2 separate regions of the Homo sapiens genome follow, and region 2 is linked to region 1. Evidence: promoter capture Hi-C in human tissues and cell types (Jung and others, 2019). All regions are on one chromosome and are shown on one strand. Each heading gives the region's core, a stretch centred on a gene start or on the middle of the fragment in contact. The rest is flanking DNA. Distances are from core to core; before and after follow the strand shown. Region 1 holds the start of PKP2 (plakophilin 2). Region 2 has its middle 240 kb from the start of SYT10.

Region 1 (3,788 bases), core at 532-3,031:
TGGCTCTTCAGGTACAAAATAACAAGGAATGCCCCAACTGACCCTGTATGGACAGATACTGAAATTGTCTCTCAAAGCAGCAGATTCTGGTCTGCCAGAAGAGGCCATGAAAAGAGAGAGAGAGAGAGAGAGAGAGAAACAGGAATGTTGCTGGACGTTTCTATCATCACTTACCTTCAGTTCACCCCTCTCTTTTCAATTACATCTCAGCATCATGGTTGGATGTTTCCACCTGGCTACATAAGCAAGCTTTACACAAGGTGTAATTTGCCTAAATAGTGGTCCATTCTATTGGGGTGGGAGCAATTGCTTCCAGGACTCACATCCATATGGCTCCCACTTAGCCATGTGGCCTGCTGACAAAGGGTGGCGGAACTGTCACTACTCTGTTGTCCACGCTTTCAGTCCTTTGGTTTCCTCTTCACTCCCTGGACGCTCATGTAAAAAGGGAGGCCATATACCTGTGCATTGTGTGTCTAAGCATTCAGTGTGTGTCTAAAGGCAGAAGGGTGTGGGTAGGAAAACAAAGACGAGGGAAGCTGCGTTCTCCAAACACTTCAGACTTGAGTAAGTGGGGTTTTGCAGCAATTGAGTGATTTGAGGGAAAGTGAACATACAAACCCAAGCAATCAAAGGGAATATTATCTTAATACCAGGGATACATGTTTTTCTTTCTGCCTCTTAAGTCCAAAGAGGCAAATCAGGACAAGTGGCTTTGGTTGTAAACTTTAAGGTCAAGGATCCTTTCTGTTGAGCTTAGCTCTCAAGTTCTCAGTAGTCAACTGCGGTGAAACATAATTAATAGCACGATAAATACAAGTTGTGGAAGATTCGATTGAAAGTTGGAGGCCCTCTCCGTGGATCTCTCTACAAAGAGCCTGTAATAAAGAGGACTTAATCAACGTTAGCAGGGCTATTTAAAAAGCATCGTCTATTAAAATTCATTTCTTCTCTAGAGCCTCTTGTTGGAGTTTCTCTGTGTGGGTGTGTTCGTAAGAGAGGAATGGGTTAGCAAGAGTACTGGGTACAATTTGTGTATCCAAGAGAAAACAGAAGCTCTCAATGAGGAAGAACATATGTTTCTGGGACTGCATCTGTGCAAAAAGTACATAGTCCTGACGTTGTACTAAGAAAAAAAACACTCTCTTTAGAAAGTCTTTTATTTCACACGTTATCTTCTTGGCACATTTCCCTCATATTGCCCTTTCCGCCTGACCAAATAGCCCTTTCTCACCCTCAGGTCCAGGAAAACCAGGAAACGTTTCCAACAGTGCGACAAAGCCTGACTAACCAGACATACTACTCGCTCGGGGATCCCGGAGGCAAGCCTCAGTCCAAGAACAGGAGTGACTCTCGAGGGCTCACCTGCCTGCAGGGCAGCCCCTCCCTGCATCGAGCGGAAATCCATCCTGTCCAGCGCGGGGCGTGGGCAGAGCGGGGCGCGGCCCCGGCAGGCGGTATCCGCTGGGACTCCGACAACGTGCGCGACCCCAGGCGAACCGCGCCCCTCTCCCCACCTCCCCGCGGGCGGGTACAAGTCTCCAGGTGTCCGCGCGCTCAGCGGGTCCGGCCCGCCCCCGCCCCCGCCCCCGGGCCCGACTGCGCGTGCCCGGCCGGAGCCGCGCCCCCTCCTCAGGGAAGGCCGGGCGTCCGGCCCACGAGGCCGAGCTCCCCCCCGGCCCGGGCCTCTCACCGGCGCGGGGGGCGGGCCAGGGGCGGGGCCGGACTCGAGCGGGGCGGGGCTCGCGCCAGCGCCCCCAGCTCCGTGGCGGCTTCGCCCGCGAGTCCAGAGGCAGGCGAGCAGCTCGGTCGCCCCCACCGGCCCCATGGCAGCCCCCGGCGCCCCAGCTGAGTACGGCTACATCCGGACCGTCCTGGGCCAGCAGATCCTGGGACAACTGGACAGCTCCAGCCTGGCGCTGCCCTCCGAGGCCAAGCTGAAGCTGGCGGGGAGCAGCGGCCGCGGCGGCCAGACAGTCAAGAGCCTGCGGATCCAGGAGCAGGTGCAGCAGACCCTCGCCCGGAAGGGCCGCAGCTCCGTGGGCAACGGTGAGTGGAGCCCGCCGCTCCCCGGCGCCGCCCCCTGCCCCACACCCGGTCACCTCCTCCTATCCCGCCCTCACCCCGCGTGCTGGGAGTGCGGGACCCCGTGTTCTGCCCACCTGTTGCTCGCCGTCTTCGGTATGACCGACTTGCTTGTGGAAAGCACTCTTTTCCATAACCTATTACTCAGCTTTGTCATATAGGTACCTATGTATATTAAATATTGTACATATCTATCAATGTTAACTAACTCACTTCAAGATTTCACCCCTTTCTTTTTCTACTCCGCCGGTCCGCGCCCCTCACTGGTGCGGACTTAATTTGAAGGTTCAGGGAGTCTATAAACACCTTGAGATGCTATGCAGAATTTTTGGTGTGTACGATCTTTTTCTGGGAGAAGGAGCCCTTCAATTTTATTAGATTTGTTAAATAATTAATGACCCCCATAAATATCTTGGGGAAAAAAACCGACAGCACTGGCGCTCCTACAACCTATAAATTGGGATTGTGCTGTCTTATGCAAGTACTTCGGGGCGCTCCACCCTGTGTGGGAGGCGAGTGGTGGATCTAGGGAGTGAAGAAAAGTAGTTAGGAGGCTTTGGTCCAGGGAACAAACACGCCGAGGAGGAGGTAGGGGACTTTGGCCCTGCCGGCAACAGCCGTGCCCGCCTAGCTGCGCTTCCTACCCCCACCAGTGCGGGCGTGATGCAAGTCTGATCCCTCCAAAAAATTAAACCCGAAGGTGAAAGGGGTGTAAGCACACACATGCACACTATGTTCATGATTGATAGACGGGGGAGGTGGAAGGGAAAGAAGATGGCAAGCCACTTGTGAAAATTAGAGATCATGATGTATCCTTTTCTCCCCTGCTGAAGTCAGGTGATGGGATCAACTCAGTGACCCTTGTTTTACTTCTTGTTGCTGTGTATGTGAGTTTGCATTATAAAAGCACTATGTTGGCTTATAGCAAAAAGAAGAGGAAAGAAATTGAGCAATTAAGTTGGAATATCTGTTTCCTGCAACGTTCAGTTGTTTCTGTATGAAGTAACTTGGGCATTGGCGAATGTAGGCTAACCCATTCTAGTTTCTATTAGGAAAACAGAAAAATTCTAACAGGCCAGACCAGAGATTTCAAACAGCAGAGTCTGGGAGGCTGTACTGTGTGTGTAAAAGAATCCTAAAGGATGACGTAGTCAATATTAACATACTTGAAAGGTAAAGAGAAGATGTTCAATGATCGTAGTTAATATAACTGAGTGCATACTATGTGCCAAGAATTGGGCGATGTGGTTTGCATTCATTTGAGATATATATATATATATGTATTTAAAAACTTGTGAGTTAGGTATTTTCATCCTCATTTTACAGATGAGGAAACTAAGCAGTTAAGTAACACTGAAGCTCTAATAGATGGTAAGTGGCAGAGCTGGTATTTAAACTCCCAAACCTGAATTTTAAACTTATCAGTTTTATCATTAAGTTTTAAAATGATTAATACAAAGTGGGATTTGTTAGATGCTAAGCCTCTCCGTGGCCCCCTCCCATTTTTCTTTAAATAAAATTGAGGAAGTTCTGAAAGGCTGGGGAGGTCTAGAAAACACAGAACTGCTGCAATACATGGAGGGAAAGACCTTATATTTATTTAGACTTAGGGGTCTGACTAAAGACTGCGGGATGAGTGAGGCCAGTCTTTGAAAAGTGGAGCCATTACACCCATTCATTCTCTGTGCCCATAGGTCCAGTGC
Region 2 (3,788 bases), core at 421-2,920, 300 kb before region 1:
TTTCAAGTACAAAACTGGCAGACCATTTGGGCAGAAACCGAGCTAGCTACAGGAGTTTTTTTATACTCCAGTGGCACCTGGAATGACAGCGAGAAACAACCGTTTACTCCCCTGGAAAGGGGGATGAAGCCAGAAAACCAAGTGGTCTAGCTCAGCAGATCCTACCCCCACAGAGCACAGCAAGCTAAGATCCACTGGCTTGAAATTCTTGTTGCCAGCACAGCAATCTGAAGTCGACCTGGGACACTCGAGCTTGGTGGGGAGAGAGGGACATTCACCATTACTGAGGCTTGAGTAGGTGGTTTTCCCCTCACAGTGTAAACAAAGCAGCCAGGAAGTTTGAACTTGGCGGAGCCCACCACAGCTCCACCACAGCTCCACAAAGCCACCGTAGCCAGACTGCCCCTCTAGGTTCCTCCTCTCTGGGCAGGGCATCTCTGAAAGAAAGGCAGCAGCCCCAGTCAGGGGTTTATAGATAAAACTCCCATCTCCCTGGGACAGAGCACCTGGGGGAAGGGGCGGCTGTGGGCACAGCTTCAGTAGACTTACCTGTTCCTGCCTGGCAGCTCTGAAGACAGCAATGGGTCTCCAAAGCACAGCAATTGAGCTCTGCTAAGGGACAGACTGCCTCATCAAGTGGTTCCCTGACCCCCCTGCCTCCTGACTGGGAGACACCTCCCAGTAGGGGTTGACAGACACCGCATACAGGAGAGCTCCGGCTGGCATCTGGCAGGTGCCCCTTTGGGATGAAGCTTCCAGAGGAAGGAACAGGCAGCAATCTTTGCTGTTCTGCAGCCTCCACTGGTGATACACCCAGGCAAACAGGGACTGGAGTGAACCTCCAGCAAACTCCAGCAGACCTGCAGCAGAGGGGCCTGACTGTAAGAAGGAAATGTAATAAACAGAAATGAATAGCATTGTGTCCGGAATTGGTTCCTTCTGGTGGGTTCTTGGTCTCGCTGACTCCAAGAATGAAGCCGCGGACGCTTGCAGTGACTGTTACAGTTCTTAAAGATGATGTGTCCAGAGTTTGTTCCTTCAGATGTTCAGATGTGTCTGGAGTTTCTTCCTTCTGGTGGATTCGTGGTCTTGCTGACTTCAGGAGTGAAAGTGCAGACCTTTGCAGTGAGTGTTACAGCTCTTAAAGGTGGCGCATCTGGAGTTGTTCATTCCTCCCAGTGGGTTCATGGCCTCGCTGGCTTCAGGAGTGGAGCTGCAGACCTTCGCGGTAAGTGTTACAGTTCATAAAGATGGTGCGTCCGGAGTTGTTCGTTCCTCCTGGTGGGTTTGTGGTCTTGCTGGCTTCAGGAGTGAAGCTACAGACCTTCGCAGTGAGTGTTACAGCTCGTTGTTACAGCTTATAAAAGCGGCACGTCCGGAGTTGTTCATTCCTCCTGGTGGGTTCGTGGTCTCCCTGGCTTCAGGAGTGAAGCTGCAGACCTTTGCGGTGAGTGTTACAGCTCATAAAGGTAGTGAGGACCCAAAGAGTGAGCAACAGAAAGATTTATTGTGAAGAGTGAAAGAACAAAGCTCCCACAGCGTGGAAGGGGACCCAAGAAGGTTGCCGCTGCTGGCTCAGGTGGCCAGCTTTTATCCCCTTATTTGGCCCTGTCCATGTCCTGCTGATTGGTCCATTTTACAGAGTGCTGATTGGTCCATTTTTACAGAGTGCTGATTGGTGCATTTACAAACCTTTAGCTAGACACAGAGTGCTGATTGGTGCGTTTTTACAGAGTGCTGATTGGTGCGTTTACAAACCTTTAGCTAGACACAGAGTGCTGATTGGTGCGTTTTTACAGAGTGCTGATTGGTGCATTTACAAACTTTTAGCTAGACAGAAAAGTTCTCCAAGTCCCCACTCCACCCAGGAAGTCCAGATGGCTTCACCTCTCAGCATCAACATCAACAAAAAGGAGATCCACACATAAACCACATTCGAAGGTCACAAACATCAAAGACCAAAGATAGATAAATCCACAAAGATGAGGAAAACAAGTGCAAAAAGGCTGAAAATTTCAAAAACCAGAACACCTCTTCTCATTCAAAGGATTGCAACTCCTCACCAGAAAGGGAACAAAACTGTATGGAGAATGAGTTTGACGAATTGACAGAAGGAGGCTTAAGAAGGTGGGTAATAACAAACTCCTCTGAGCTAAAGGAGCGTATTCTAACCCAATGCAAGGAAGCTAATTACCTTGATAAAAGGTTACAGGAATTGCTAACTAAAATAACCAGTTTAGAGAAGAACATAAACGACCTGACGGAGCTGAAAAGAACAGCACAAGAACTTCGTGAAGCATGCACAAGTATCAATAGCCAAATCGATCAAGCAGAAGAAAGGATATCAGAGATTGAAGATCAACTTAAGGAAATTAAGCTTGAAGACAAGATTAGAGAAAAATGAATGAAAAGGAATAAACAAAGCCTCCAAGAAATATGGGACTATGTGAAAAGACCAAACCTACGTTTGATTGGTGTACTTGAAAGTGACGAGAAGAATGGAACCAAGTTGGAAAACACGCTTCAGGATATTATCCAGGAGAACTTCCCCAAACTAGCAAGACAGGCCAACATTCAAATTCAGGAAATTCAGAGAACACCACAAAGATAATCCTCGAGAAGAGCAACCCCAAGACACATAATCATCAGATTCATCAAGGGTGAAATGAAGGAAAATGTGTTAAGGGCAGCCAGAGAGAAAGGTCAGGTTTTCCATAAAGAGAAGATCATCAGACTAACAGCAGATCTCTCTGCAGAAACCCTACAAGGCAGAAAAGAGTGGGGGGCAATATTCAACATTATTTTTAAAAAGAATTTTCAACCCAGAATTCCATATCCAGACAAAGTAAGCTTCATATGCAAAGGAGAAATAAAATCCTTTACAGACAAGCAAATGTTAGAGATTTTGTCACCACCAGGCCTGCCTTACAAGAGCTCCTGAAGGAAGCACTAAATACAGAAAGAAAAACAGGTACCAGCCACTGCAAAAACATACCAAATTGTAAAGACCATCAACACTACAAAGAAACTACATCAACTAATGGGCAAAATAACCAGCTAGCATCATAATAAAAGGATCAAATTCACATATAACAATATTAACCTTAAATGTAAATGGGGTAAATGCCCCAATTAAAAGACACAGACTGGCAAATTAGATAAAGAGTCAAGACCTACTGGTGTGCTGTATTCAGGACCCATCTTACATGCAAAGACATGCATATAGGTTCAAAATAAAGGGAAGGAAAAATATTTACTAAGCAAATGGAAAGCAAGAAAAAGCAGGGCTTGCAATCCTAGTCTCTGATAAAACAGATTTTAAACCAACAAAGATCAAAAAAGATAAAGAAGAGCACTACATAATGGTAAAGGGATCAACATAACAAGAAGAGTTAACTATTCTAAATATATATGCACCCAATACAGGAGCATTCAGATTTAGAAAGCAAGTTCTTTGAGACCTACAAAGAGACTTAGACTCTCAAACAATAATAGTGGGAGACTTTAGCACCCCACTTTCAATATTAGACACATCAATGAGACAGAAAATAAACAGGATATTCAAGACTTGAACTCGGCTCCAGACCAAGTGGATCTAATAGACATTTACAGAACCCTCCACCCCAAATCAACAGAATATACATTATTCTTAGCACAACTTCGCACTTATTCTAAAATTGACCACATAATTGGAAATAAAACACTCCTCAGCCAATGCAAAAGAATGGAAATCATAACAGTCTCTCAGACCACAGTGCAATCAAATTAGAACTCAGGATTAAGAAACA

The links. Contacts are between HindIII fragments. The study calls those that stand out against the background at their distance.
Region 2: a fragment that was not itself captured here is called in contact with the fragment with the promoter of PKP2 in region 1 in 2 of the 25 tissues and cell types used here (bladder and thymus).

Annotation. Positions count from the first base shown.
Region 1 is chr12:32,894,770-32,898,557 of GRCh38, reverse strand. It overlaps PKP2 (plakophilin 2), which reads left to right and starts at 1,781. Exons shown (of 13, transcript NM_001005242.3): 1 at 1,781-2,049. The coding sequence starts at 1,827. RefSeq lists silencers at 1,373-1,472, 1,673-1,782. The HindIII fragment of the contact is 8,511 bases long and covers 1-3,788 here.
Region 2 is chr12:33,197,190-33,200,977 of GRCh38, reverse strand. No RefSeq gene overlaps it. Among named protein-coding and RNA genes, the nearest start is that of SYT10, 240 kb to the left of the region's middle. The HindIII fragment of the contact is 4,237 bases long and covers 1-3,788 here.